Linked DNA regions of Homo sapiens: regions 1, 2, 3, 4, 6 and 7 are each linked to region 5. The links are contacts of gene promoters, found by promoter capture Hi-C in blood cells and fetal thymus (Javierre and others, 2016). All regions are on one chromosome and are shown on one strand. The core of a region is centred on a gene start or on the middle of the fragment in contact, and the rest is flanking DNA. Distances in the headings are between cores, read along the strand shown.

Evidence for each region. The method cuts DNA at HindIII sites, captures the fragments that hold promoters and counts their contacts. A CHiCAGO score of 5 or more calls a contact.
Region 1: a contact is called between a fragment that was not itself captured here and the fragment with the promoter of CREG1 in region 5, in 1 of 17 cell types (fetal thymus). The highest score is 5.6, in fetal thymus.
Region 2: a contact is called between a fragment that was not itself captured here and the fragment with the promoter of CREG1 in region 5, in 9 of 17 cell types (total CD4 T cells, fetal thymus, non-activated CD4 T cells and 6 more). The highest score is 11.7, in total CD4 T cells.
Region 3: a fragment that was not itself captured here is called in contact with the fragment with the promoter of CREG1 in region 5 in 1 of 17 cell types (fetal thymus); the score reaches 7.3 in fetal thymus.
Region 4: a fragment that was not itself captured here is called in contact with the fragment with the promoter of CREG1 in region 5 in 4 of 17 cell types (total B cells, activated CD4 T cells, total CD4 T cells and 1 more); the score reaches 8.2 in total B cells.
Region 6: a contact is called between a fragment that was not itself captured here and the fragment with the promoter of CREG1 in region 5, in 1 of 17 cell types (fetal thymus). The highest score is 6.6, in fetal thymus.
Region 7: a contact is called between a fragment that was not itself captured here and the fragment with the promoter of CREG1 in region 5, in 5 of 17 cell types (fetal thymus, total CD4 T cells, total B cells and 2 more). The highest score is 8.7, in fetal thymus.

What each region holds. Positions count from the first base shown.
Region 1 is chr1:166,866,971-166,870,494 of GRCh38, forward strand. It overlaps TADA1 (transcriptional adaptor 1), which reads right to left. Exons shown (of 8, transcript NM_053053.4): 2 at 2,793-2,884; 3 at 2,475-2,540. It also overlaps the pseudogene DUTP6. Among named protein-coding and RNA genes, the nearest start is that of TADA1, 7.5 kb to the right of the region's middle. The HindIII fragment of the contact is 801 bases long and covers 1,382-2,182 here.
Region 2 is chr1:166,908,076-166,911,811 of GRCh38, forward strand. It overlaps ILDR2 (immunoglobulin like domain containing receptor 2), which reads right to left. Exons shown (of 10, transcript NM_199351.3): 10 at 112-3,736. Among named protein-coding and RNA genes, the nearest start is that of TADA1, 34 kb to the left of the region's middle. The HindIII fragment of the contact is 9,574 bases long and covers 1-3,736 here.
Region 3 is chr1:166,942,926-166,946,798 of GRCh38, forward strand. All of the region lies in intron 3 of ILDR2 (immunoglobulin like domain containing receptor 2), which reads right to left. All of the region lies in intron 1 of LOC124904449 (a long non-coding RNA gene), which reads left to right. Among named protein-coding and RNA genes, the nearest start is that of ILDR2, 31 kb to the right of the region's middle. The HindIII fragment of the contact is 2,984 bases long and covers 56-3,039 here.
Region 4 is chr1:166,924,812-166,928,553 of GRCh38, forward strand. It overlaps ILDR2 (immunoglobulin like domain containing receptor 2), which reads right to left. Exons shown (of 10, transcript NM_199351.3): 7 at 2,256-2,369. LOC124904449 (a long non-coding RNA gene) reads left to right here and starts at 2,360. Exons shown (of 3, transcript XR_007066714.1): 1 at 2,360-2,796. RefSeq lists an enhancer at 394-553. The HindIII fragment of the contact is 1,052 bases long and covers 1,795-2,846 here.
Region 5 is chr1:167,552,184-167,556,073 of GRCh38, forward strand. It overlaps CREG1 (cellular repressor of E1A stimulated genes 1), which reads right to left and starts at 1,579. Exons shown (of 4, transcript NM_003851.3): 1 at 1,205-1,579. The coding sequence starts at 1,558. RefSeq lists a silencer at 1,268-1,717. The HindIII fragment of the contact is 3,087 bases long and covers 472-3,558 here.
Region 6 is chr1:166,840,956-166,844,981 of GRCh38, forward strand. It overlaps POGK (pogo transposable element derived with KRAB domain), which reads left to right. Exons shown (of 6, transcript NM_017542.5): 2 at 1-133. The coding sequence starts at 2. Among named protein-coding and RNA genes, the nearest start is that of POGK, 3.5 kb to the left of the region's middle. The HindIII fragment of the contact is 449 bases long and covers 2,049-2,497 here.
Region 7 is chr1:166,889,613-166,893,108 of GRCh38, forward strand. No RefSeq gene overlaps it. Among named protein-coding and RNA genes, the nearest start is that of TADA1, 15 kb to the left of the region's middle. The HindIII fragment of the contact is 6,086 bases long and covers 1-3,496 here.

The DNA.
Region 1 (3,524 bases), core at 532-3,031, 690 kb before region 5:
CTGACTTCAGGTGATCCACCCACCTTGGCCTCCCAAAGCGCTGGGATTACAGACATGAGCCACTGTGTCTGGCTGGCATTTTTTATTTTTAAAATCACTTTTTTATAAGTTCTTTCATCTGTTTTTTCATAATCCTACGGGGTAGATATTGCTGTACTTATTTTATAAATTTGAAAGCCCAAGTAACTATATTATGTAAGCTAGTGGCAAAACCTACACTTGAACCTAAGTCTCTTGACTCTTATCAACCAGGGTTTTTACTTCTGATCACTCCATTTATCTTTGGCATATGTGGCAATTTACAATATGCTTCCCTAAAAAGTAAGATTCACAATATTGGCTTTTCTGATCAAATTAAATTTTATGTAACAAAATAGATTATGATTTAACTTTGGACATAAAAGAGGAATGGCTAAAGTCTACTTGTATATAAATTAAATAGCACATCAAAAATCTGACACAGTGTAAGAATGTGCGGTGATGAGTGTGGTGAGGGGAGGGAGGCAGTCACTGCTCTCTAAAACAACCCCACAAGCAGGTGCTCACAGTTTACTACACATTAACAACGACTTCTTTGAGGGTCAAAGAACGAGGTGTTAGGAGATCTTATGTGAATTTTTTTTTTTTTTTTTTAAACACAGTTTCACTCTGTCGCCCAGGCTGAAGTGCCGTGGCACAATGTAACCTCTACCTCCCAGGTTCAAGCGATTCTCATGCCTCAGCCTCCTGAGTAGCTGGGACTACAGATGTGCGCCACCACGCCCGGCTAATTTTCTTTTTTGTATTATTAGTAGAGTAGGGGTTTCACCATGTTGGCCGGGCTGGTCTCGAACTCCTGACCTCAAGTGACCCGCCCGCCTCAGCCTCCCAAAGTGCTGGGAATACAGGCGTGAGCCACCACGCCCTGGCTTGAGTTCTTTATCATACAGTAGAAGTAAACAGAGAGAGAGGATTAAAAAATACCAGCCATTTATAGATAAAACATGAGCTTTCGATATATGATCATCAGAATCACCCTAAGCCCTTAAAAAAATTTCAATTTAATCTACAACAGGAGTTGGTAAGCACAATTGTAATGGTAACTTTTGTAGTCTTATGAATAGATATAAATTGCAATTTAGAAATATAAAAACTACTGAATAAATCATTTGGCCTAATTTTTTTTAAAAAGTCCAGTATGACTTTTATCATGAGGAAAGTTTTCAATGTATTTAATTACTTGTTTTTGACTGATTAAAATAAGATGGTTGAGAGAGGTGACTTACAGCTTAATCTTCTCTTCAGGTTAAAGTGACAGGTTTCGTTTCCACCTACCCCCTCAACATGCTACTATCCCCTACCTCTTGTTATCTACCAATAATCTGTGAAACACAGGTGCTGAAGCTTGACCTTTCAGGTGCTATCTTACCTAAGAACATAGTGGAAGTCCAGGTTCCCAACATATGCTGGGTTCCCCCACCTCCCCACTACGGACACCTTTCAAGTTAGGTATCCCTTAGGTACAGGACACCTAACACCAACTGCCCTCTCTTCATCTCCCTTACCTTCTTCATCCTGATCTCCCACCCTCTTCCTCACTTCTCATTTACTTAAGTAATCTAAAATGTAGCTGAGTGGGGACTCAATATCAAAAGGTAATATAAGTACAGGGACATAACCTGCTTTACAAGGCTCCGTAGATTTGGGCAGTCCCTGCTGTGGTGCTCACCCTGCGCCCTCTTGTTCCCGGGCTATCTCCTTGCTTGCCTTCTGGCTCTCTCAAGCCCTATTCTGAGGGACACCACTATTTCCCCCATTGAGCAAACTGGCCTGCGGGGGAGGGTGGCACACAGAGCAGCCTTGCCCAGCTCTCCCAGCATAACACGCCCGGACCAAGGGGTCCACGGGGGCTAGGACTTGGACATGCCTAGGATTACACAATACCACCTAGGGAGAAAGCACTTGTGAAAACAAACATTCAGACAGTCCTTCCTTCTGGGTGTTAGAAAAGAGTAGTGCCACATCTGGCTTGGCTGAAAAACACTTTACTGATGTAGGAGCTGGCATCATAAGATGAAGATTATAGAGGAAGTGTTGGTGTTGTACAATTCAATTTTGGCAAAGAAAAGTTTGGTGTCAAAAATGGTGATCAAATTGCATAGCTCATTTGTGAACAGACTTTTTCTCCAGAAACAGAAATTCAAGCTTTGGATGACACTGAAAGGGGTTCAGGAGGTTTGGGTTCCACTGGAAAGAATTAAAATGTATGCCAAGAACTGAAAATGAGAAATCATACCTTTTTCTTAAAAATAAAGAGTTTCTGCTTTAAAAAAAAAAAAAGATTCTGTAAAAGAATTTGTATCTACCTAATAAAACTTTTCTTCTGAGTAGTTCAAAAACATCTGCTTTACAAACACTAGCTGTGTCTATTAGAGAAAGCTAAAGTCTAGTGCTTTGCTGACTTACACACACTGGAAGTATTTCCACTCCCTTACCTGGTGTAGAAACCAAAATCTGACAACGCGTGAGAATGGCCAGGAGGAAATCATTGTGAGAATGGACTGAAAAAGGAAAGATAGTGACAATCAAATTCAAAACATTTTCAACATAAGGAAACCACAACTTTGGTCTAGCTTCTCAAGATTTTGGATATCCCCTATTCTGCCATGCTTTATACTTAAAGTATCCACATTATTAAGATAACCTTATACACCACAAAACCAAAATTTTACTTTTTAAAAAGGGAAAAGACTTTACTACAAATCTAGGAAAACTACAGAATAGTAAAATAACTCTGCAGATAATTATTTTACCATTATCCTGTGTGAGAAGTCTATGAGCTTCAAGGTCAAACTCCTCTTTGCTGATCTTCTGCTTGAACCACAGCTTTAGGTTAGCCCAGTATCTGCAGAGGCAGAAACAATACTAAGAACCACAGATTTGGCTGCTTCTAGTTTTTTTTGTTTGTTTTGTTTTTTTAAAGAGACGGGGTTTTTTATTCTGTCACTCAGGCTGGAGTGCAGGGGAACAATCAGAGCTCTGAACTTCTGGCTTTAAGCTACCCTCCCACCTCAGCCCCCTGAGTAGCTGGGACTACAGCATGAACACATTTTGCTTCTTCCCCAAGTTCAGCATACATGCTCCAACTCCGAGGAAAGGAAATTTTGCATTCCCTGGCTCTATGGGCTGAATTGTGTCCCCCCACAAAAGTCCTGTGTTAAAGCCTTAACCCTAGTACTTCAGAATATGACTCTATTTGGAGATTGGGCCTTTAAATAGTAATTAAGATGAGGCCATTAGGGTGGGCCCTAATCCAGTATGATTGGTGTCCTTATAAGAAGAGGCAATTAGGACACAGATACATTCACAAAGAAATAACCATGTGAACACACAACAAGAAGGCTGTCATCTATAGGAGAGAGGCCTCTTGCCAACATCTTGATCACAGACTTCCAGCCTTCAGAACTGTGAGAAAATAAATTTCTGTTGTTTAAGCGAACCAGTCTGTGGTACTTTGTTATGGCAGCCCTAGCAAACTAATACAC
Region 2 (3,736 bases), core at 585-3,084, 640 kb before region 5:
ACTCAAGGAATCCAAGTAGTTCTCCTTTCCTGTTTATACAGAAAGGAATGAAGAGGTGGATAGGTGTCTTAGTCACTTCAGGCTGCTGTAACAAAAATACCATAGACTAGGTGGCTTAAATATCAGAAATTTATTTCTCACAGTTCTAGAATCTGGGAAGTCCAAGCTCAGTGCACCAATACATTCAGTTCCTGGCGAAGGTCCTTTTCCTGGTTTGCAGACAGATACCTTGCTGTATCCTCACATGGCAGAGAAAGAGAGGAAGTAATCTCTCTCCTGTCTCTTCTTATAAGGACACTAATTCCATCATAAGAGCTCCACCCTACTGACCTAATCACCTCCCAAAGGCCTCATGCCCAAATACCATCACATTAGGATTAGGATTTTGACATAAAAATTTGGGGAAGACACAAAACACTCAGTCCATAGCAACAGAGAAGCAAAATGTCCCCTGTTCTATGGAACTTAGAGAGGAAGGGAGAAGCACCTTGCCCAGCATTAAGTATTTTTCTTGAAACTGTCTGGAACCTCTAACAAAAAAAGTAGAAGGTGAATAATTAGGAGACAACAGGAAGTAGGAGACAAGAAATGAGGGTACCAGAAGAATCCAGGGAGGAGACGAAAGGTCCTAATGAAGGCAGTGACACAGAGATGGATTTCTAAATTCAGAACGAGACAAGTATAACCAAGGACATTCACTGGTATATGGAAGGCTCTGGTAGGATTTGTCACTGAACTGTGGTAAAAACAGCCTCCCTGAAGCCTTGGGTTGGAATAATACGTGTGAGGGAATTGGCAACAAAAGGAAGCCGGAAAGGCTGGTTGTTCAGGGCTCTGTGGCTGCAGATAAAGAATCTTTTCGGATGCAGTAGCAGATAGCTGTTGGTGTTGTGTATGTGTTTTGTCTGCCCAGCATCACTATTCTCACTTCTTCTATTAATAACAACTCTCTTCTCTCTTTGGAGAAATCTTCCTATCCCACTATCCAGTCCATCGCAGTCTCACCTTCCTGGTCATAAACAGACTTGCCACATCTCTGGCCACATGATTAGCTCAGATATGGGCACATGACTCAATATGAGTTGACTGCAGTCTTTCTCCAGGATTGTTCTCATGAGTAAAGCCTTTTGCCTGCTTGGTCAAATGAGCTGGAAAGTTGTGACTCTCAGACTGCTAGTGGCTATATTCCTGCCTTTTGGAGTAAGTCTATCCTCACTGAGAAAATGTATTGATGTAAAAACACAAGTAGGTGTGGATGATGGACAGGGAATCTTAAATCTTACTACATTGAGACCCAGGTTTGTTCTCAGTTCCTACAGCTCTTCCAGCCTGTGAGCTACTCCAGGATCTCTCTAATAGATGAGCTCCATTTCTCCTTTTCTTGTTCTTAAGCTAGTCTGAGCTATCTTCCTGTCATTTGCAACCAAAAATTTTTTTACTAATACAGCTGCCAAAGGAATGAAACATAAGAGGCTATCGCCTTGGCCTGAGGGAATGAGAAAAGCTAGGTGCCTAAGTCATACCAGCAACAAAAAGAGGCTGGGAGGGTGGGGTTGTATATTAATGTCCATTATAATTTAACTACATTCAGTTGAACAAAGCGTTTTTCCAAAAACAAGGTTAATAGAAATTGACATATATATGTGTGTGTGTATACATACATATATATATATATATATATATAAATATATATAAATATATATATTTATATATATATATATATATATATATCCTTCTAGCTTTGCTCTACTGGACATTAACGTCTCAGAGAAAGAAAAAGAGCCAGAAAAAATCCACTGTGGCTATGCTTCTACACAAAATTTGTAACAAAATGTGAGAAAATATCTCCAGAGAGCAAGGATTGTTTTAAAAAAAAGTAAAGTGTTTTAACATGTCTGGAATTTTCTCCTCTGCTTGGTTTTTAGAGACAGTGAGAGAGAGAACAAGAGACAGAGAGATTGATTCATCTTTGTACAGCTGAAGACTAGGGAATGGACTATTTAGGTCCTTTGGTTGTACAGTTTGATGACACGGTTTTTGCTTGTTAAAGAGAAACTGGCTTCACCATAATTCTGCAGAATCAGAGTCCTGACCTGACTTCAGAAAACAATTGTAATTCCATGGTGTTAAAAGCACACTTTAAAATAGCTTTAAATCACAAAAGGCATGCACCTAAATCCCACTTGATCCCAAGCAAAAACCTCATGGTTTTCCCCACATTATATCCACAGAAGCCTGCCTCAAAAACATAATATGGCAAGTTCTAAACTTGCAAAGTGTAAGAAAAACATATCACTTTTAAAGAAAAAATTCCTAATGCACTTAATTTGTTTTTCAAAAGCCAAATTCATCTATATAAATTCATATATAGCATTAAAATAAGCTATATAAATTCATATGTAGCTTTTCCCTTAAGTAATGTGAGGCACACCTCCATCCAATACTGGAAGGTTAGCAATAGAGTCACTCTCTTGGATGTGTGCCACTAGATGGCGTGTCAGACCAACTCACTCACCTCTAAGCAACTTCCTAGCTACTTCTACACCTCATGCCATTTTTGGTGAGTCATCTTAGGCCACCTGATAAGTATTCAGGAAATGCTTATAACCAATTCAGCAGAAAATATAATTTTCACCTAAGTGGTGTGATGAGTATGATTAGGATGTCTCTGCCAAGATTTTCTAAGAGAACCTGAAATTAGCCTACTTCTTATTTCTTGAAATGAAAGCATATAAAAATTGGATTAGAATTAGATAATCATAGGGAAAAATGAATTATTTGTTTTGCCTAATTTTAATCCATCCTATGAGTCTAGTCCTTCCTTGCTGCTTCTTTTTTTTCTTGTCTTTTTAAATTTTTACCTTTTTGTGGAGGATGGGATCTCACTATACTGCCCAGGTAGGTCTTGAACTCCTGGCTCAAGCTATCCTCCCACCTTTGTCTCCCTAACTGTTGGGATTTCAGGTGTGAGCCACAGGGCCCGGCCTTCCTTGCCTCTTGAATGAAATCTACATCCATAATTTATTTGGCCACTCTTAACAATTAACAGCCTTCTGTTCACTCTTAAACCCTAAAACAGTCTATGTCTATAATTAAGACAGCCATTCTCTTATATTATCAAACTCTAAAGAATATGTAAAGTTAAAGCCTCTTGCCCTCCCCATCTTAAGATTTTGTTTGCAGTCTACAGGTTGCATTAGAAAGAAATGCACAATGCGTGTATGTGTGCCTTTTTCATTTTTTCCCATTTAGCACACTTACTTCTTCCTTACTCAATCATTCACTCTTCCTGGCTTCCCCAGGGTTGCTGTGTATATATAGAGTCATTATGGAGAAATGTAAGGCAGATAAGGAGCAAGAAAGGTTTTTCTTGACTGGCACAATGTAATATGGCATTGCACCACACATGAGCTTAAAATAAAAAACTATAAAACCCATAAAGAAACAAAAAACTGTGAGTGAAAGTTAGCAGAAGTAACAAACTCTAAAAGTAGACCCACAAAGACTGTAGATATTGGAATTACTGGATATAAAATTTTAAGTTAGTATCTTTAAGATATTCAGATAAATAAGAGGGCATTGTAAAAAAAAAAAAAGAGTAAGTCACAAGACAACAGGGACTATGTAAATTTGAAAAAGAACTAAACTCCTAGAAATGAAATACATATTAATTAAAATTAAAACTCAAATAAAGGAGATTAGAGCTAGCTGAAAAGAAAATTAGTGAGCTGGAAGA
Region 3 (3,873 bases), core at 298-2,797, 610 kb before region 5:
ACATATGGACAGGTGATTCACAAAGCTTTTCACTCCAACAGGAAGACATACATCAAGCTTCTCATTCTCCCTGAAGCAACAGTCAATATCTGATGCTTCAGAAGGTGAAGCCTTCCCATAATGCACCTGTGTAGTGTTAGCCACAGGGTAGTGTAGGTGATATGTGCAGTAAAGTGGGTGAAATTAAATATCTTCAGAATTCAAAACATAGTAGGAGTTTTGGGAGAGCAGACAATACCAATATATCATGTCAACAGCAGAGACGGTGCAAAGCTCTATAGCTTTGGCCGGGCACGGTGGCTCACGCCTGTAATCCCAGCACTTTGGGAGGCAGAGGCGGGCGGATCATGAGTTCAGGAGATCGATACCATCCTGGCTAACACAGTGAAACCCCGTCTCTACTAAAAATACAAAAAATTAGCTGGGCGTGGTGGCGGGCGCCTGTAGTCCCAGCTACTCGGGAGGCTGAGGCAGGAGAATGGCGTAAACCCGGGAGGCGGAGCTTGCAGTGAGCCGAGATTGCACCACTGCACTCCAGCCTGGGCGACAGAGCGAGACTCCGTCTCAAAAAAAAAAAAAAAAAAAAAAAAAGGCTCTATAGCTTTTACACCATTACTTATATTTTATTGGAGCTAAAGGCATTTTAAAAAGTGGATTTATGCTGAATATTTATGCTGAATATTTCTGAAAATATTCCACTTCCAGCTTCTTCCCTAACAATTCCTAAGAAATGTTATTGCTAGTTAGAAATGCTTTATCTTTTCTTCTATCATATCCAATGAAGGCCTGATCTTACAGAGTCTAAACAATTGCAGTAAATACATTCCAGATTTCAGCAGCACTTTACCAACACTTGTGAATCGCTGTCATTCTTCCAGGATTCAGTTTAAGAGTGGCAATTACAAGTCACTTTAATGTCTGAGGAAAGGATGGAAAGCAAGCCCTGCAAATAGAAGGCCACATTTACTCTTTTCAAACCACAGCTCAAACTATCAGAGGAAAATACAGTTTTTATGTAAGCGCTCAAACAGTTTTCCCCAAATCTTGCAGAATCCATTACTTTTAAGAAATTTCCACATGAATAGACCAAACGAATCAGGCATACTAATACTTTGTACATGCACACACACAAGTGCCAGTTCCATATCATACTGTCACAAACTCTAGAGCTAAACACATTCACACGCTTCGGATTAAATGATCAGGGTAGAAATATGCATTGTGAATAAAATAACTTACCTATCTTACCTATAAAATTCCCCATTTCAGTTGTTTTCTGCCACTGCCACTTTTGAAGTTATCCTCAACTGAACTCTTTGTACACATTCCTGCAAACCAGCTCACTGTTGGAATGTCTCTCATTTATTCATTCATCATTCATTCATTCAACAAAGAAATTTATATTTAGCTAGGTGGAGACACAGGGGACAAGATGTGTTCCCTTGAGACACTTGAGAGGCTCACAGTCTAGCCCACACAGAACTCAGCTTTAGTTATGTGCTTCTGTGCCACAAGAACTATTAAATCTTCCCGCCAAATTAGTTTTCATCAGCCCTCTTTGCATTTTTGACATCAGGTTCTGCCTGGTCATGGGGCCTTTCCCTGGAGACCTAGTCCTTGCCTGGTTTCCCACTTCTACTCAGAACATTGTCTTTGCACATTTCACAACAAATTATGTCCTAGTGGCATTTCCCCAAGTTTTTTTACACCTTTTTCTTGGTAGGTTAGCCCCCTCAAAGCAAACTTGATTTACTTTCTTTGCTCAGATAAGCATTTCAGTTGCTTTGTTCAATTCCTTACCACAAAGACCACAAGACTGAGATATGTTCTGACACAGCCCTGTAAGAATGCTGCACTAAGAAGGTGCTTCCTCCTCCATGCTCCCTAGGACCACTGCACATGCCTTCACTAAAGCAGTTATCTCGTGGCTGCAATGTGCCTTTACTTTTACGAGTGCCTCCACTACCAAGATGGAAACCCCTCCAGAGCAGGGACTATGCTCTACGCTTGGCATCTCCAGAAGCCCAGCGTGAGGAGGCACCTCACCCACCCATCAGGAACTTGAAGTGTTTCCAATAGCAAATCCCCTTGTTCAATATGCAGGGTTTCTAGCTGGACTTATGATTTGCTGCGCATTATAGTGACTTTATCAACCTCAGGTGGAAGTAGGCTTTTAATGAAAATATGAAAGAACTATTCATTTATTCATGCAGCATTATTCTATATACTGCACAATGTTTAACACTTCTGAACTCAGGGAAGAATGCCAGGAGCATTCTCCAGTCATTGGAATATCCCCAAATGCCATCTTGCTATCTAAGGAGACAAAAGCACCACCCTATCCCACACCAAAAAGTTGAATAGACCAAACGAATCAGGCATACTAATACTTTGTACATGCACACACACAAGTGCCAGTTTCATATCATACTGTCACAAACTCTAGAGCTAAACACATTCACACGCTTTGGATTAAATGATCAGGGTAGAAATATGCATTGTGAATAAAATAACTTACCTATCTTACCTATAAAATTCCCCATTTCAGTTGTTTTCTGCCACTGCCACTTTTGAAGTTATCCTAGGGTATTTTTGAGGAAGTCATTACAGAGATAAAATAACACATAAAACTTTCAGCCAAAAAGACTGTTTTGGTCTCTACTCTTAAAACTTAAATCCAAGCTCTAATCATTTCCAAGCCTTCAAAGTTACAATGGAAGGTAAAGAAGTTCAGGATTTAGGACAAACCTGTTTTCAGAACCTGCTTACTCAATCACTTGATAACACATTGTTTAATGCATTGGAACTTAGGAAAAGGAAGTATAACATTTCCTTTATCTTTATGACACCACTGCTGACAGCAGAGTTACCTCCATTTCTTTAAACTTATTAAGTTGGAGTCCTTCTAGGGTTTGCCAACACACTATACAGATGAACTTTCTGTTTAGGACAGTGAGGAATGCCTTTCTTCCCCAGCTCCGTGTGGTTCCCCTCTTCTCCCTTATGTTTAATGCACATCTCAGCTTCATCCCACTTTCAAGCTTTCCTCAGATGCCCTAGATCCATTTTCAGGGATGTACTGTATCCACCCCCTGTTCTGTCATCTCCTAACCCTCCAAAATGTTTCACTCCTATGTCTTTGAGGAGAACAGATGCCTTTCTCTGGCCCTTTTAAATGTAAAGATGTTTCTATGGCTATGCTTTTAAGTGTTAAGTTGTTTCTATGGCTATTTGGAATCCCAAATAGATTGGAAATTTCCCAAGGGCACACACATCCCAGTTTTTATTCTATATTCCCATGGTAACCATGCATTTAATAAATATAGTTTATGACTATCACAAATGTGGATATAGCCCCCTTTTCTTTTATATATATTTATAAACTATGTTCTTAAGCATTTCATATGTTTACTTTTTCTTTCTGTGTCCTTTACATTTTAGTTCACTTTAAATTATAGTCTTAAAGGAGAATAATTCTGAAACCGAATTCTATCCATAAAATAACTAGTATTGGACCATCTACAATTAACTGTTAATAAATGCTTTGAGGTTGGTTTTTTGTTTTTTGTTTTTGTTTTTGGCAGTAGTTATAAGCTTGGCCTAAGGAGCTGACTTCTATTCCCACAGAATCCTAGAATCAGATTTTATAACTAGAAAGGATCTTAGAGGTCATCTAGTCCATATTCTACCCTATGTTTCAGGGATCTGAGGCTCTGAGAGGTTAAGAATCTTACCCCAAGTCACACAATTCACTAATGATCAAGCCAAGAATACAACCAGGTGTACTCACCCCAATTCCAGTTTTTTTCCCAATATCTCACCACCCCAAAACTTTGCTTATCTTTCATCTAGAAATGTGCACCAACTGCCTTC
Region 4 (3,742 bases), core at 1,071-3,570, 630 kb before region 5:
TGAGACCAGCCTGGGAAACATAGCAAGATCTTCATCTTTATAAAAAATTAAAAAATTAGTTGTGCATGGTGGCACATGCCTGTGGTCCCAGCTACTGGGGAGGCTGAGGTGGAAGGATCCCTTGAGCCCAGGAAGTCGAGGCTGCAGTGAGCTGTGTTTGCGCCACTGCACTCCAGCCTGGGTGACAGAGCAAGACCTTGTCTCAAAAAAAAAGGAAGTGAAATATATTTGGCCCAGGAGATATAGTTTGCTGAGCCCTATACTAGAACTTCCCAGACTAAAAACATCCCCTAAACAACCCCCACCATTTAGAAGGGCAAAGCAAATGAGGACCATACTGGCTAGCAAATTCATGAGCCTGGACCTCAAACTCAATTCTTACAGAATCTGTTACTCTCCTGCCCCAACCTGAAACCATGAGATCCATTTTATAATGAGATTTCAAGATTGCCCAGTTCCATGATCCAGCCCATGGTTTACTATGTTCTTCAGGAACAGGACTTCTCAAAGTAAACAGTATTCCTACTTTATCTCTATGCAGTTGTTATAATATTAACTTGCAGGTTCCAGGAGATCAGGGTTCCAGTTCTGGCACTGGCACTGAGTACTGGTGCTTGTTACTTTCCCTTTCTACCTTAGTGAAGGGGACGGATTCAACAACCTCAGAGTCCCTTCCAGCTCTGACATTCTAAAGTCCTACTAGCTAGAAGGCTGTGGTCTCTGAACAGAATGGAGCCATGGAGCCATCCACATTACAGCCATGGAGCCATCCACAGTTTGCCCAAGAGTTTCTTCTGGAAAGACCACAGGACTGGGAATCAGAAGAGCTGGAATCTGGTCCTAATTGTGTCACCGCATCCCTAGGCTTCTGTTTCCTCACCTGCACACTACAAAGGTTAACCTAGGCCATCTCTAAGACCCCCTTTGACTCTAAGAGTCCATTACCTTATGACCATTAAGCCCCTAGAGACCATTTTAATGAAGTAGAGAGACAGGAGACATCACCTAAACCAGAATTCTTCCTTTAGTTTTAACCTTAGCTGTTAACTTTTTCTCTGAGCTGTGAGATTCGCAAATTTCCTGCACAGACTCCTCTGTGGTCCCTGACTCACTCTGTCTCTGGCCCCTTACAGGGATCCATGACAACATTGTTACAACTAGCTTGTCAAGTGCAGTGACATCTGCATTCCTGACATTCCAATCTGGAAATGGTCTTTTTATAGTCGGTGTGGTGGGAGGATACAGCAATGGATACAACGCAGACAGGATGAATTTAGAATTGCAAACTGGGTGGAATATGTTGTCCTTAATCTGAATAAAGCTCTTCTAGTCTGGGACTGTTTCCCCAACAATTCCGTCAAGTCTCTCGTTAGTTCCAAGAAGAGGAGGGTAAAGAGACAGCATAATGACCTCACTTCCACACCCGCCAGCACCCTCTGATAATGAGCCTGTCCATGTGGGACCTGCCCTATGTTACCTCCCATGATACATAAGTTGGAATCCACCCCAAGAATCAGCTGTGTCAGCTGCAGAGTATCCAAGGGCTGGGGGTGAGTTAAGGGTTGGGGCCCGGCCACCTCAGACTTAGTATTCAAAAAGTTCTTTTGACAAGAGGATCAGCCTCTTTGCTTGCCCCTTAATCTCTGTTGTTTGGCATCTTCGAGGAGCAACAACCTTTTTTCCAGATTCACGTGCCAGACTTGTTCTTTCACTTTCAGGAGGCCTCCATGCAGCGAGTTGGTGGTTGTATTATCCAAGGCTAGCACCCTTCACGTTGGAAAAAACTGATACTTAAGCTTCCACATCTTAAGACATTACTTTGAATATATTTTAAAGGGAGTAGAAGGGAAAGACTATTTGGAATGCTTTATTAAAATAGTCTTTCCCTTCTACTCCTTTTAAAATATATTCAAAGAAAGTTGGTTCTTTATTCAAAGAAAGTTTGAATAAAATATATTCAAAGAATGTTGGTTCTATCCATGGGGCATGGATAACACAGCCCCAGAAATACTGACTGCCCCATGGAGAAAACCAACATAAACCAAGATGCTACCGAATTGCTCTACTCTTCACACCAGAAGACCTTTTTTTCCCCTCTGTGTACTGAGAGCTACTTTCTTCAGTAGTGTCACCAGCACCCCTGCTAATTCTAAGCCTGCAAGCTCAGGGCTGCCCAAGTTTGGTGACCCCCAAATCCCCTTTACACACTAACTCCTGCATAATGCACAGATCACAGAAAACTAACAGATGCTCACATCTGCCTCTCATCCTTCTGGCTGGATCAAACTGAGCCAGCTCCTTCTCAACATAGTACAGGACCTTCATGGAGTCTCTCTCTTTGTCAGCCTGGATCCGGTAACCTTTGCGAACTGTTGAGAAAAGCACAAGAAGGTGAGCTGAAAAAGGAAAATATCAGGAGAAGGAGGCCTCCATTTATTTTACCAAGTAGAAAATAGGGTTTCCAATTATAACAACTCTTTTTGAAATCACCCAGAAATAACGATCTATATTTATACATATGGGACCATATCTGTGATCCCCTTTATCAGATGGCGCCACTGGAATGGAGGACCTAAAGGTCAACAACAAAATTCCATTACAGTCTATTTTTAGTCATTTGTTAACTTCTGCTTCCTATCTTTTGACCTCTTACAGCTCCACTTAGTGCTCATCTTCTCAGCGCTTTTGCGTTCCATTGGAGGAGCATATTCACACTAAAAAAAGACCACTTTCTAGATTGAGGACATGCGTCACTCTAGCATCTGAGGATCCCACCTTCACTTTGTGAGAGCACAGGTAACTTACAGATACTCAAACATCAAGGGCCTTGACAAAGTTGGCCTGAAAGCTTTGAGTTGCCTAGGAGATAATGCAAAAGTTCCTTAAACTGAGTTGTGTATAAGAGCTAATATTAATTTCTAGACCATATACATAGTAGTACAAAACAAAATTCAAACTATGTGGATTTTTAATTATGGTTCCATTTCATTTCTTTAGCATTTTCCTTTTAGGAGAAGGAATACTGTGTTTTAGACATGATTAATTTGACCTGCTGCGATGTGGTTACAAGCAGCTGTTATTTTCAGGGCTTAATAAAAAACAAAACTAAAGCAGGAGAGAGAACATCTCCTACATCTCTATCACTCATATTGTCAGAGACAAAGGCTGTTTAAGCCCCATATCACTTAAGTATCAGTCTAGCCCAATACCAGCCCCAAGAGTGATAGATACCAGTGGGCCTAATTTACAGATAAGAGAAAGAGGAAAAAACGAAAGAGAGAAGGGAATGATGGGATGGGTACTGAAAAATAATGGTAATTAGTCAGTACTTACTGGGCACTGAAAATGTGCTAGGTACTGTGCTAAATGCTTTACATGGACATTTGTTCCTCAGAACCACCTAAAACAGTACTGTTATCAGCCACATTTTATGTTTGAGAAAATTTTGGGTCAGAGGGGTTTCATAACTTGCCCAGGAAAAATTTAGCAGTGCCAGGGCTGGAACCATGTAGTCTGATGGAAGCTTAACCATATTTGGGCATCTTGCCTCTCTAGAGTCTAAGAAGAGAGGTAGTGAGAAGAGACAGGTGAGAAAAACAAGGAAGGAAAGCCCAGAGTAAGAACTGCTTTAGCTATGCCATGGGTTGTATGGTCTGCACAGCATGGTCCTATATTCCAGCTATTAAGGACTTTTCAATGGGATGTAAGCTAGTGACCTAACTCCAGCATTCCCTGTTCCCAA
Region 5 (3,890 bases), core at 329-2,828:
TAACCTAGGTAGGCCTCAAGTTCTTCATCTGCAGAATGGGGTATATAATACCTACTTCAAAGAATTAATAGAAGAGACAACGAATGGAAGGCAAATGGAAAAGTGATTAATCAAGCATCAGTTTCTTGCATCCTGTCTTTATCAACAATGTTGTACTTTCAGAGTTGAACTCAAATGTGAGAGCTTTGTCAAAAAGACCCTCCATCAAATCAGGCTCCATTCCTGGACTCTGTGTGTCTCCGGCCTCCCAAGCTGGGTGTCTGTGACCCCATCCCTGAGACAGCAGAGATCCATCAGAGTTGTAAGTGTGGCCCTGCACCAGAAGGTGGGCAAAGGGCGAGGAAGAGATACACCTTCAATCAGCTCTGCATCTTACTGAGGAGCCACTATGCCTGTGGAGGCCTAAAGACTGCAGTAATCATTGTAATCGTCCATGATATTGTACGTTAGCGTCTTGCTGCAGGAGGGAAAAGCTTAATTCAGGAAGGGTAAGAGAGTGAGAAACCCTGAAGTCACATATTAAAGTGCTTAAGTACCTAACAATCTCTATGCCCTGTAAAACCTTTAAGAATAGGAGCCCAGGCAGGGCGCGGTGGTTCACGCCTGTAATCCCAGCACTTTGGGAGGCTGAGATGGGTGGATCACGTGAGGTCAGGAGTTTGAGACCAGCCTGGCCAACATGGTGAAACCCCGCCTCTACTAAAAATACAAAAATTAGCCGGGTGTGGTGGCACGCACCTGTAATCCCAGCTACTCGGTAGGCTGAGGCACGAGAATCGCTTGAACCTGGGAGGCAGAGGTTGCAGTAAGCTGAGATAGCGCCACTGCACTCCAGCCTGGGCCACAAAGTGAGATTCTGTCTCAAAGGGAAAAAAAAAAAAAAAGAGAATAGGAGCACAGTTAATAGAGACACTGGGCCCCAAGACGACTGAGAACCACTCACGGATGAGAAGTCCTCGGGCTGCTGGCAGAGAATTTACCCCAGGTGCGTGGCCCAGTGGCGGAGGCTTGTGGGAAATTCCTGGTACCCAGCTGCCCAACATCTGGGACGCTGCAACGCCCACCTACCTGCCTGCGCGGCAGAGAAGCAACAGCCGTTCGAGCCACGCTCCACTTCCCGGGAAGAATTCTGGGGAGAGTGAAGGCTCGCTCTGTGGCCGCCCCGCCCACAGCCCGCCTGGGGAAGCCGCGGGCCCCAGCTCACCTGCAGGTTGCTCACGGAGAGCTGCAGCGGGCTCAGGTAGAAATAGGGCACGCCGCTGCCCGCGCCCGGGGGCCCGTCGCTGAGCGAGAGGACGTCGGCGAAGGGCCGGCCGCGCACCGCCTCCAGCGTGGAGATGGTGGCCAGAGCGCCCCAGTCGGAGACGTGCGTCACGAAGCGGGCCACGCGCGCCGCGTCCTCGCGGGGTGGTAGCGGCGGCAGCCGGGAGGCCTCGTCCCAGTCCCCGTGGTCCCGGCCGCCGCGACCCCGCGCGGGCGACACGAGCAGCGCCAACAGCGTCGACGCCAGCAGGGCGGCGAGCAGTGCGCGCGCGGACCCGCGGGATAGCCCGGCCATGGCGGTGTCTCCAGGAAGAGTCCCGGGCCCCAAGACCTGCAGGGACCCAGCCGGAGCTCGGCGCGCCCAGGCCCCGCCCCCTCCGCGAGGCGCCAATCAGAGCTAAGCACAATGCAGGGGGCGGGGTCCCTCTGCAGCTCCGCAACCTGCAGGAGAAGGGATTGGTTCATCTGCATTCCAATCGCTCTGCCTGCCCTCTTTAAGGATTGTGAATTTGTCCTAAACGGGATATTTGTTTTGTTTTGTTTGACAGGCGGAAAAAGAAAGGCTTGAAGAAATCAAGCAACTTGCCCAAATCGTACTGCTAGGAAAAGACCAGCCTCTTTACACAGGCACACACCCCCTCCTTTTAATACCTTTGGAGATGAATATCTGGCATCTGAGAGGAAATGCTGCATTTTCTACCCATGCGCCTCTTTTCTGTTGAATTTACCATCAGCTCCAAAGAACAGCGAGGGTCCCAGCGTTGTAGAAGCCCAGACTCAGGCTCGTGTACCCCATGTGTAGCTGATGCCAAACACTGACATATAGGTGCTTGGAGATAAAAGTTTATTCGATTTGGCCAAAGCGAGAAGGCGGGAGGGCAAGATCTCTCAAATCCGCCCTAACAAAAAGAAGAAGCAGAGAGTGTTTATGCGGCCAGCGAGTCAGGGAGGGGGAGTTTCAGGGAATCGAGGGAAAAAGTCTGTGTTTCTTCAGTCTCAGATAATTCCTTGAACAATCAGACTTCTGGGCGACAGAAGCTGGCCTCAAAGTACTTCAAAGGACTTATTCCTCCTGCAAACTTTTTCGTAACCCTGAAGTTATTATCTCCTCCTGCTTGATAAAGAAACAGTACATCAGCAGTTTATGATTATGTTGTAGGAACAAGGGATATTGGGCAAAAAGAGAGTTGTCAACATGTGCAAGCAAGGGCCTGATCAGAATTTTCATTATTTCAGTCACTAACAAATGCTGGGGTGCTGAAATCTCAAGGGGCCCACTTACACTAGTAGTAAAGTTAGGCAGAAGCCCGAAAGTTCAAGACCTTTAAAAAACTTTTTATTTACTTATTTTAAAATTTTTAATTTTTGTGGGTACATAGTAGGTGTATACATTTATGGGGTACATGAGATATTTTGCTACAGGCATACAATGCATAATAGTCATATCAGGGTAAATGGGGTATCCATTGCCTCAAGCATTTATCCTTTGTGTTACAAACAATCCAATTATACTTTTAGTTATTTTAAATGTACACTTAAATTATTATTGGCTATAGTCACCCTGTTGTGCTATGAAATACTAGGTCTTATTCTAACTATTTTTTGTACCCATTAACCATCCCCACTCCTCCCCTGCAAGTCCCCCCACTACCCTTCCTGGCCTCTGGTAACCATCCCTCTACTCTCTGTCTCCATGAGTTCAATTGTTTCCATTTAGGCTCCCACAAATAAGTGAGGATGTGTGAAGTTTGTCTTTCTGTGCCTGGCTTATTTCACTTCACGTAATAACCTCCAGTTCCAACTATGTTGTTGCAAAGACAGACAGGATCCCATTCATTTTTTATGGCTGAATAGTACTCCATTGTGTATATATACCACATTTTCTTTATCCATTCATCTGATGATGGACACTTAGGTTGCTTCCAAATCTTAGCTGTTGTGAATAGTGCTGCAGTAAACACAGGAGTGCAGACATCTCTCAATATACTGATTTTCTTTCTTTTAGGGATATACCTAGCTGTGGGATTGCTGGATCATATGGTACCTCTATTTTTAATTTTTTGAGGAACTCCAAATTTTTTTCCAAAGCGGTTATTCTAATTTACATTCCCACCAACAGTGTACAAGGGTTTCCTTTTCCCCACATCCTCACCAACATTTGTTATTGCCCGTCAAGACCTTTTAAACTACTGGCCCAGGAGTCCCTCATATAGACGCACAAAGGGATTGTTAGTCTACTATCAATATCCCATGTACAAATTTGAACTTACCAGTTCAGGACCTGTTAAGACATTAAGCTTGGGGTCGGCGGTTTCATGAATTTATTGCCCCCGCTGCCCTTCCCTGCTCCATGTAAGGGACATTCCTTTTGCTTCTTCTAAGATGGCCTGTCTCATTCTCTCACGGGTGCTCCTGATTCTGCTATTCTGGAAACTGGTCAATAAGCTCATAGCACCTGGCCTCCATTCTTTATGACTTTAAGCTTTGGTCACGTCTTTTTGGAGCAAGTCTTAATCTTTTTGGCCTGGCCTCAAATTTCCACTGTAATTGTTGTTATAAAGACTGTATGGTGGTGTTAGTGCAAGAGTTTGTCATCTTGTAAAGCTGGCTCTGGCAGACACCTGGCC
Region 6 (4,026 bases), core at 1,023-3,522, 710 kb before region 5:
GATGGAGTCCACAGCCTACCCTCTCAATTTGAGCCTGAAAGAAGAGGAAGAGGAAGAAGAGATTCAGAGCCGGGAACTAGAGGACGGCCCGGCAGACATGCAGAAAGTACGAATCTGCTCTGAGGGCGGATGGGTAAGTAAGAAGGTGTGGAGTCCACACAGCCAGCAGATGCAGGCCTGAGAGCCCAGCTTGCTTTAAGTCTCCTCCTCAGACAGACGTGGGAAGTAAAAATAGCCCAGCCCGGTGTGTTTGCATTCCTGAGAAAACAGCTCTGTGGCTTTAAAAGGCAGTGCAAAGAATGGAGGAGGTGTTATGGAAACAGTCCCTCAGCCATGTAGCTTGTCATCGTTCAATTGGAAGTCCTAGAAGCCAGGACCTTGTCTCTCTCGTTCACCCACTTATCCTGCACTGCGTTTGATGCCAGGCACATTGTAGGCACCAAGTAAATGTTTGTTGACTTACTGCTGGTTGAAGGGAACCATTTTAAATAAGACTCGAGTCATTGGGTTGACATGAGAGGTTAGGCTAGTTGGTTCTGTGTGAGCACCTCTTACCACAGTTGACACAGGAGAGCTGCCTGTCCAGCTGACCTGGATAGAAATGGTGGGCAGCAGGGAATACAGAGATTCAGGGTATACACGCAGAATAGTATGATAGAGGTCGGTTTATACAAATGCAAATGCAGTAGATACTTATAGTTACAGATAGTTATTCACCGTAGTTACTGGACTTCGTGGTAATTAGGCATGAATAGTAAACATTTTAAATAAGCAACAAATTGACATTCCTTTTCTCTGCTTATTTTCCGTTGTGTATAAACATTGTCAGTATACATAGTATCCTTTGCTTCCATGAAGAGCCCCTATCCATACAAGCATGGTACTTCTAAATTGTTCCCTACCAGAGGAGAGAACTGGGATGCAGAAAGATTATCTGCCTTGCCCTAAGGTTACACATGAACACTGACATTTGTTCTTCAAAACAGGTCTCCTGAGCTGCACCCTTAAAAGTAATGCATTTTACCATATGTATGCTATACCTTAATTTAAAAAAAAAAAAAACAGTGCAACCACAGGCTCTCAGTTTGCCAGTCTAGCTGTGGACACCGCGCTGCCTTTGTCTCATCAGTGTTCTTTGCCCACCACATCCTTCTTCCCAATTCTGATCCAAGCAGGCGTCAGGTCTATTTAGCCTGGAACAAGAACTCAAGGCAGTCAAAACTCAGGGCTTTGAGGCTAGATTGGTCAACCCAGAACATCTAAATGGAGAGCCTTGGAGAACAGGTGCAATGAAAGTGAATGTTGGGACAGTGAGGAAGGAGCAAGATGAAGACCAACCATGCTTAGGTGGGAAAAGAAGGAAGTAACCAGAAGGGCTGGAGGAGGGAGTCCAGCAGCTGGTGGTGCTGGGGATTGGGCATTTGTGGCCTCCAGGCAATCAGCCATCCATCCACAGTTACCAAGCACAGTGCTGGGCGTAAAGAGAGACTCTTTTCCTGATGGAATTTCCAGTCTTGTGAGCAAGGCAGGAAAGTAAACATAAGTAATAGTAAGCACAGTGTGCAGAGTGCAGTGGTGGAAGTCTGCAAGGATGCACCAGGAGCCAAGATGAGGGGATGCCTCATTCAGGCTGAGAACTCCGGGGCTTCCTGGACAAGGCCTAATCTTGAGCAGTGAGCAATTTTGCCCCCACCCCTGGACATTTGGCAACATCTAGAAACACTACCCCCTTTCCCCACCCCTGGATATTTGGCAATATCTGGAAACACTTTTGTTGGTCTGACTTGGTGGGGGTGCGTTGGGGACTGGGAGATCCTCCTGGCATCTAGTGGATAGAAGCCAGGGGAGCTGCTAGATATCTACAGTGCACAGGATGCCCCCCCACCACCACACACACACACACATACACACACAACAAAGAGGTAACTGGCCCAAAATGTCAGTTGTGCTGAGGTTGAGAAACCCTGCTCTAGAGCATTAGAAGAAAAGAATCTGTTTTTAAAATATGTATTTTGGTTATAGAGAATTATGTTAGGGTGATCAGTGAAAGCTTTTCAAGCATAAGAACTATGATAATATATTAGGATAAAATTCCATAGAATTGAAATAGAAATACAATTTTAAGTAGAAAAAATAAAAAATGTGCTTTGAACTGAGTCTTAGTCATTATGGAATCAGCCAAGGGAAGGGAAGGGGGTTGCATTCCAGGCAAGAGGACAGCACAGGCAAAAGCACTGAGGAGAGGAGCTTGGGTGCAGAGTTAGGAGCAGCTCCTGCAGCTGGAACCTGAAACTCATGGCAGGGAGTGGAAGGGGATCAGGTATAGGAGGCCAGGCCAGGGGCCAGAGCCAGCCAGGAGGACATGCAGTGCTACGCCAGCGAGTTTGAGCTTTCTCCTTAGCTCTGTGGAATGAGGCCTTAGCCCATCTTTCTAAGGGAGGCCTCAGGCTCTCTACAGCCACCATGCTAAGGCCTGAGTGGCCTGCTAAGAAAGCAAAGCTTTGGCATCAGACTTTCTAGCTCTGTGACCTTGGACAAGTTACTTAACCACTCTGTTTCCTTACCCATAAAAGTGAGGTAGTGATCCCCATGTCCCTAGTTTAGCGGATTCAGTGAGAGAATATATTTATATGATTGAGTGTCCTATACAGTGCTTGGCCCATAGCAGGCACTCCATCAGTGGATCAGTACAAACTACCCCAACCCCTTCCCCCGAGATCCCTGCGTCTTTGCTGGGTGGCTGCAAGGCTTTAGCGAGGCTGTGCAAGGTGTAAGCACTTTACAACATTTACCCTTTGAGATAGCATTGGAATGCCAACTTCCTGAGCAGAGCAAGGCAGTGCACACAAGCTAGAGGAAGAACACTTATCCAGTGAGCCCTTGATCTTCTGAGGAAAGGGAGGAGGGCAGGGACTGAAGGTCCCTACCTGCAAGGCCAAGGAGGGGTGTCTGGAGGTGGTACACAGACTGCCTGACTTCTCAGTTTTGCCCGGGGCCGGCCCTGTTTACCTTCTGCTATGTTGAGCCAGATAAAAGGCCTCTGTGGAGCGAGGGGAGGCCTGCGCAGCAGGGCCTGGCTGAAGGATCGCTCCATTCTCACAGAGGCTTGCTGTGAGGAGAATGTCTAAGCCACTACACTGTGCCTCTGGAGCATAATGTGGGCTTGTTTGAAGATCCTCCGTGGCTCAGTCATTAATAGGAAGAGATGAATCCTGCACCAGCCCCCAGCTTTCTTCCTGCAGCTTCAGGGCTCCTGGTACCTGATGTTTTTACCAGGCCTAGAATATGTTACCCCCCCTAAGAGTATTGATGGCCCCTCTGAAATGACAGGCATAGACAGTCCTGTTCCCATTTTATCAGCAAAGGGAAAGGGACTATAAATAGGTATGACCTAGATCTGGAACTTCCCAGGGAGAAAAAAAGGCCAAAGAGACAGTTCTTTAAAAGCCTGGGAATTGGGAAAGGAGTAGGGTGGAAAATTCCTGGGCTGACTGGCTTTCCAGGGTGAGGAAGTCTGAGGAAAGCCTGAAGACGAATCCATTTTACCTCCTCATATTTCACACTTAGGGATGTTTGTCCATTCTTACTCCAAAGAGTAGGTTTGGTTTTATGACAGATAAAATTTAATGATTCTTTGAAACAGTTCCAAGTAGAACAAGAGAAGGGAAATCCAGAGATTTGCCTAGATCGTATATTCAAAAGCACATTTTTCAGTGACTACTAGCTACAGGAAGTGTCCTCGGCTTAGGGAAGCAAAAAGGAGTAAGTACAGGTCCTGCTTTCAACAAGCTCAGATTCTAGTGGAGGGAGCAGACAAGTCAACCAAAAGAATTCTGCAGTGTGATGAGTGCCCCGGGAGTGTGGAGCCCAGGACATTTCAGGGACATGTGGGTGTGCTCACAGCGTGGCACAGAGTGGGCTTCCTCGGGAGCAGGGATTTTGGGCTGAGTCCTGGAAGATGGGTGGGTGTCAGCCAGACCAAGAAAGGGGAGGCCCTCCAAGGCCAGGGGAGAATATGGGCCAAGG
Region 7 (3,496 bases), core at 840-3,339, 660 kb before region 5:
TGGTCAGAAAACAAATGACAAATTAGTCTCTCCGAATTAAATAAATACAAATAAACAACAATTAATAAATAAGACTCTTTTCACCTCTTTCGCAAATATAGATGTTTAATGACACGTAATGCGACAAACCTAAAGGGAAAATGAACACTTTCCTAAGTCATTGGTGGAAATGTGCATTGGTGTGTTCTTTCTGGAGGATAATTTGACAATATCTTTCAGAATTTAAAATGCACATCTCCTTTCACTGGTAATCCCTCTGGCAGAAATTTACACAATAGATATAGTTGCAAATGTTTAGCAAAATATATGTACAAGAATATTTATTGCTACATTGTTTTGCCACAGCAAAAGACTGGAAACACCCAGTATTCATAAGTGGGGGCAAGTTAACTAAATAACAGTAAACCTGTATGATGGAATAAGGATGCCTCTGTGAAAAGACTGAGGTAGTTCTGTGACCTCAAGAGTCAAAAGAACAAGTTGCAGTACCACATGTAACATTTTTATAAGAACAGACAGATACATATATGGTGTGAACATATGCATTAAAAGAGTTTTTAGAATAAATTACAAAATTAGTTATCTGTGGTATGGAGACTGGTATGAAGACAAGGAAAAAACCTTTTACTTTCATTTTGTATCTTTGGCTCATCAAATTTTTCATCTTAAAGGGAGCCAAGCTATGAGGATGCAAAGGCATAAGAATGATACAATGGATTTTGGGGACTTGGGAATGGGAAGTGGGGGAGGTGGGTGACGGATAAAAGATCATACATTGGGTACAGTGTATACTGTCAGGGTGATGGGTGCAGCAAAATCTCAGAAAACCCCACTAAAGAACTTATTTATGTAACCAAACACCACCTGCTCCCCAAAAACCTATTGAAATAAAAATTTCTTTTTTTCATCTGATACATGTTTCATGTATGACATTTAAAAGAACTATTAGCAGGGGTTTCCTTTACTTCCCTCAACTGCAATGCCCAAAGATATATTTTACATTCAGTTTTTTCTATATGTATATAAGAAAGATGCAAATATGTATCTTTGAATATGCATAATTATCATCTCTGTTGTTAAAAAATGGGGATTATATATAGTTCTGAAATTTGCTTTTCCAAATTTTTATATTATTCACATCTTTCCATTTAAGGACATACTGCATAAAATTTTACAGTAAGAATATGCTGTAACTTATTTACCCATTCTTATATTATAATGTTATTTCTATTTTTTTGGCCTTTACAATTAATTCTGCAATGACCATAATTTTACATAATTAATTTTTGTATGCATGTATTTTTGTAGGACTGATTCCCTAAAGTGGAATTCTAAGTAAAAGCAGAGACGACTGAGGCACAGGAGGTCACAAGAAACCTCCTGCATGCAGGTCATTTAAAATATCTGCTATTATCATGTCTCTTAACCTTCCATTGGACAACACGAGTCATGGAGGTGGTGAATTACACTCTGCCCACAATGTAGCAACGGCAAGGACAGAGACAGAAGGAAGATTTAGGGATATATAATAGAGTTTGCCACATTGCCAGGATGTGTGTATTTTTGGTTTTGTCTTTTTCTTTAATGACATAAATTTCTTGAGCAGCTGCTGCCAGTGTCCCACTTATATCCCCCTCACATTCACCTCTATAAGCCAATGCTGTCACCATGAATATCCAAAAGTTCTGCCTGAGGACTTTTCTTCAGCCCGGCAAAAAAGGATAAGCCAGAAGTTCTGGAGAGTCATGCCCTCAGAAGCAGTTCTCAACTGAAGATGGGCAAGGAGTTGAGGAATAACTAGTCCAGATTCCTCACCTCTCAACTCAGGTGAAGGAGACATTCCTATATAGCCTCCCACATTCACCCATCTGGATTGAGCTCCAGTTGCAGGAAATGATAACTGCCTTAACGATGTATTCTTTATTGACGTCCTTCCTTTCCCTGTCTCACTTTCCCAATAAACTCTCTACAATAAACTACTTTCCTCAAATCCTTATTTCAGGGTATGCCTTTTGGGGAACACGAACCAAGACTGTCTTACTCCAAATATTCATAAATTAATCCCTTGTGTGTTAAGAGTTTGGTGTAAAGATATGTAGAACATATCTATGGATTCTAATTTAGTATATCAATATTAAAGTACAAAATCAAGAGCTTTTTTAAAAATCCTAGATAATTCTTATATATTAGACCTATTTTTTGATATGACATTAAATTCAGAGTCTTTACCTCACAATGACTGTTACTTCTTATTTTCCCACTAAATTCTAACAAGTGAACTCTGAGAAATGCTCAGAAAAAGTGAATCAAATATAAGATGATTCTTCTTCAAAGAAAAATATAAAATTCACTCTACCTTCCTGCCTAGCTTCATCTTTATGAACTCTATGTCCAGGCTCACTTTCACTTTTTGTCAGTTATTTTCCAGGAATACAAATTTATTCTTATGCTATTACTATTATTATTATTATTATTATTATCATTTTTGAGATGGAGTCTCGCTCTGTCACCCAGGCTGGAGTGCAATGGCGTGATCTGGGCTCACTGCAACCTCTGCCTCCCAGGTTCAAGTGATTCTCCTGCCTCAGGCTCCTGAGTAGCTGGGATTACAGGCATGCACCACCATGCCTGGCTAATTTTTGTATTTTTAGTAGAGATGTTGGTCAGGCTGGCCTCAAACTCCTGACCTCAGGTGATCCACCGCCTTGGCCTCCCAAATTGCTGGGATTACAGGCATGAGCCACTGTGCCCAGCCTATTATTTTTGACTAGAAGCATGCTTAACAATTTAATCTCTTATCACAGGGTCTCTGTGACACTCAGAGTCTAGCTAATAAAGGGAAACTATTACTATTCCTAGGGCAAAAGGGACAAAGAGAAGAGTGTTACTCATGAGAATTGAATTATGGAAGATATATCACTCCTCTAGATGTCTCTGCTTTCATCAGAGAGATGACATCAGGACAGATGTAGTGGATTAAATTGTGGCCCCCAAAAGATATGTCCAAGTCCTTACCCTTGGTACCTGTAAATTTCACCTTATTTGGAAATAGGGTCTTTGCAATTGTATTTAAGGATTTCAAGATGAGATCATCCTGGATTTTGGATGGGCTTAACGGGTCCTCCTGCATTTAGGGTGGACACCAACTACTTGTGTCCTTATAAGAGAAAGGAGGAGATTTGAGACACAGAAAGATACAAGGTGAAAAGTCATGTGAACATAAAGGCAGAGATTGGAGTAATGTGTCTACAAACCACGGAATGCCAAGGATTGCCAGCAGCCATGAGAAGCTAGGGAAGAGGTGTGCGAGGGATGTTCTCTAAGAGCCTTCAAGAGGAGCTAGCCCTGTTGGCACCTTGATTTTGGACTTCTGGTCTCCAAAACTGTGAGAGAATAAATTTCAGTTACTTTAAGCTACCCAGTTCACGGCAATTTGTTATGACAGTCCCAGGAAACTAGTATGGCAGGGAAGGAATGGAGAAGAAATACCCTGGCC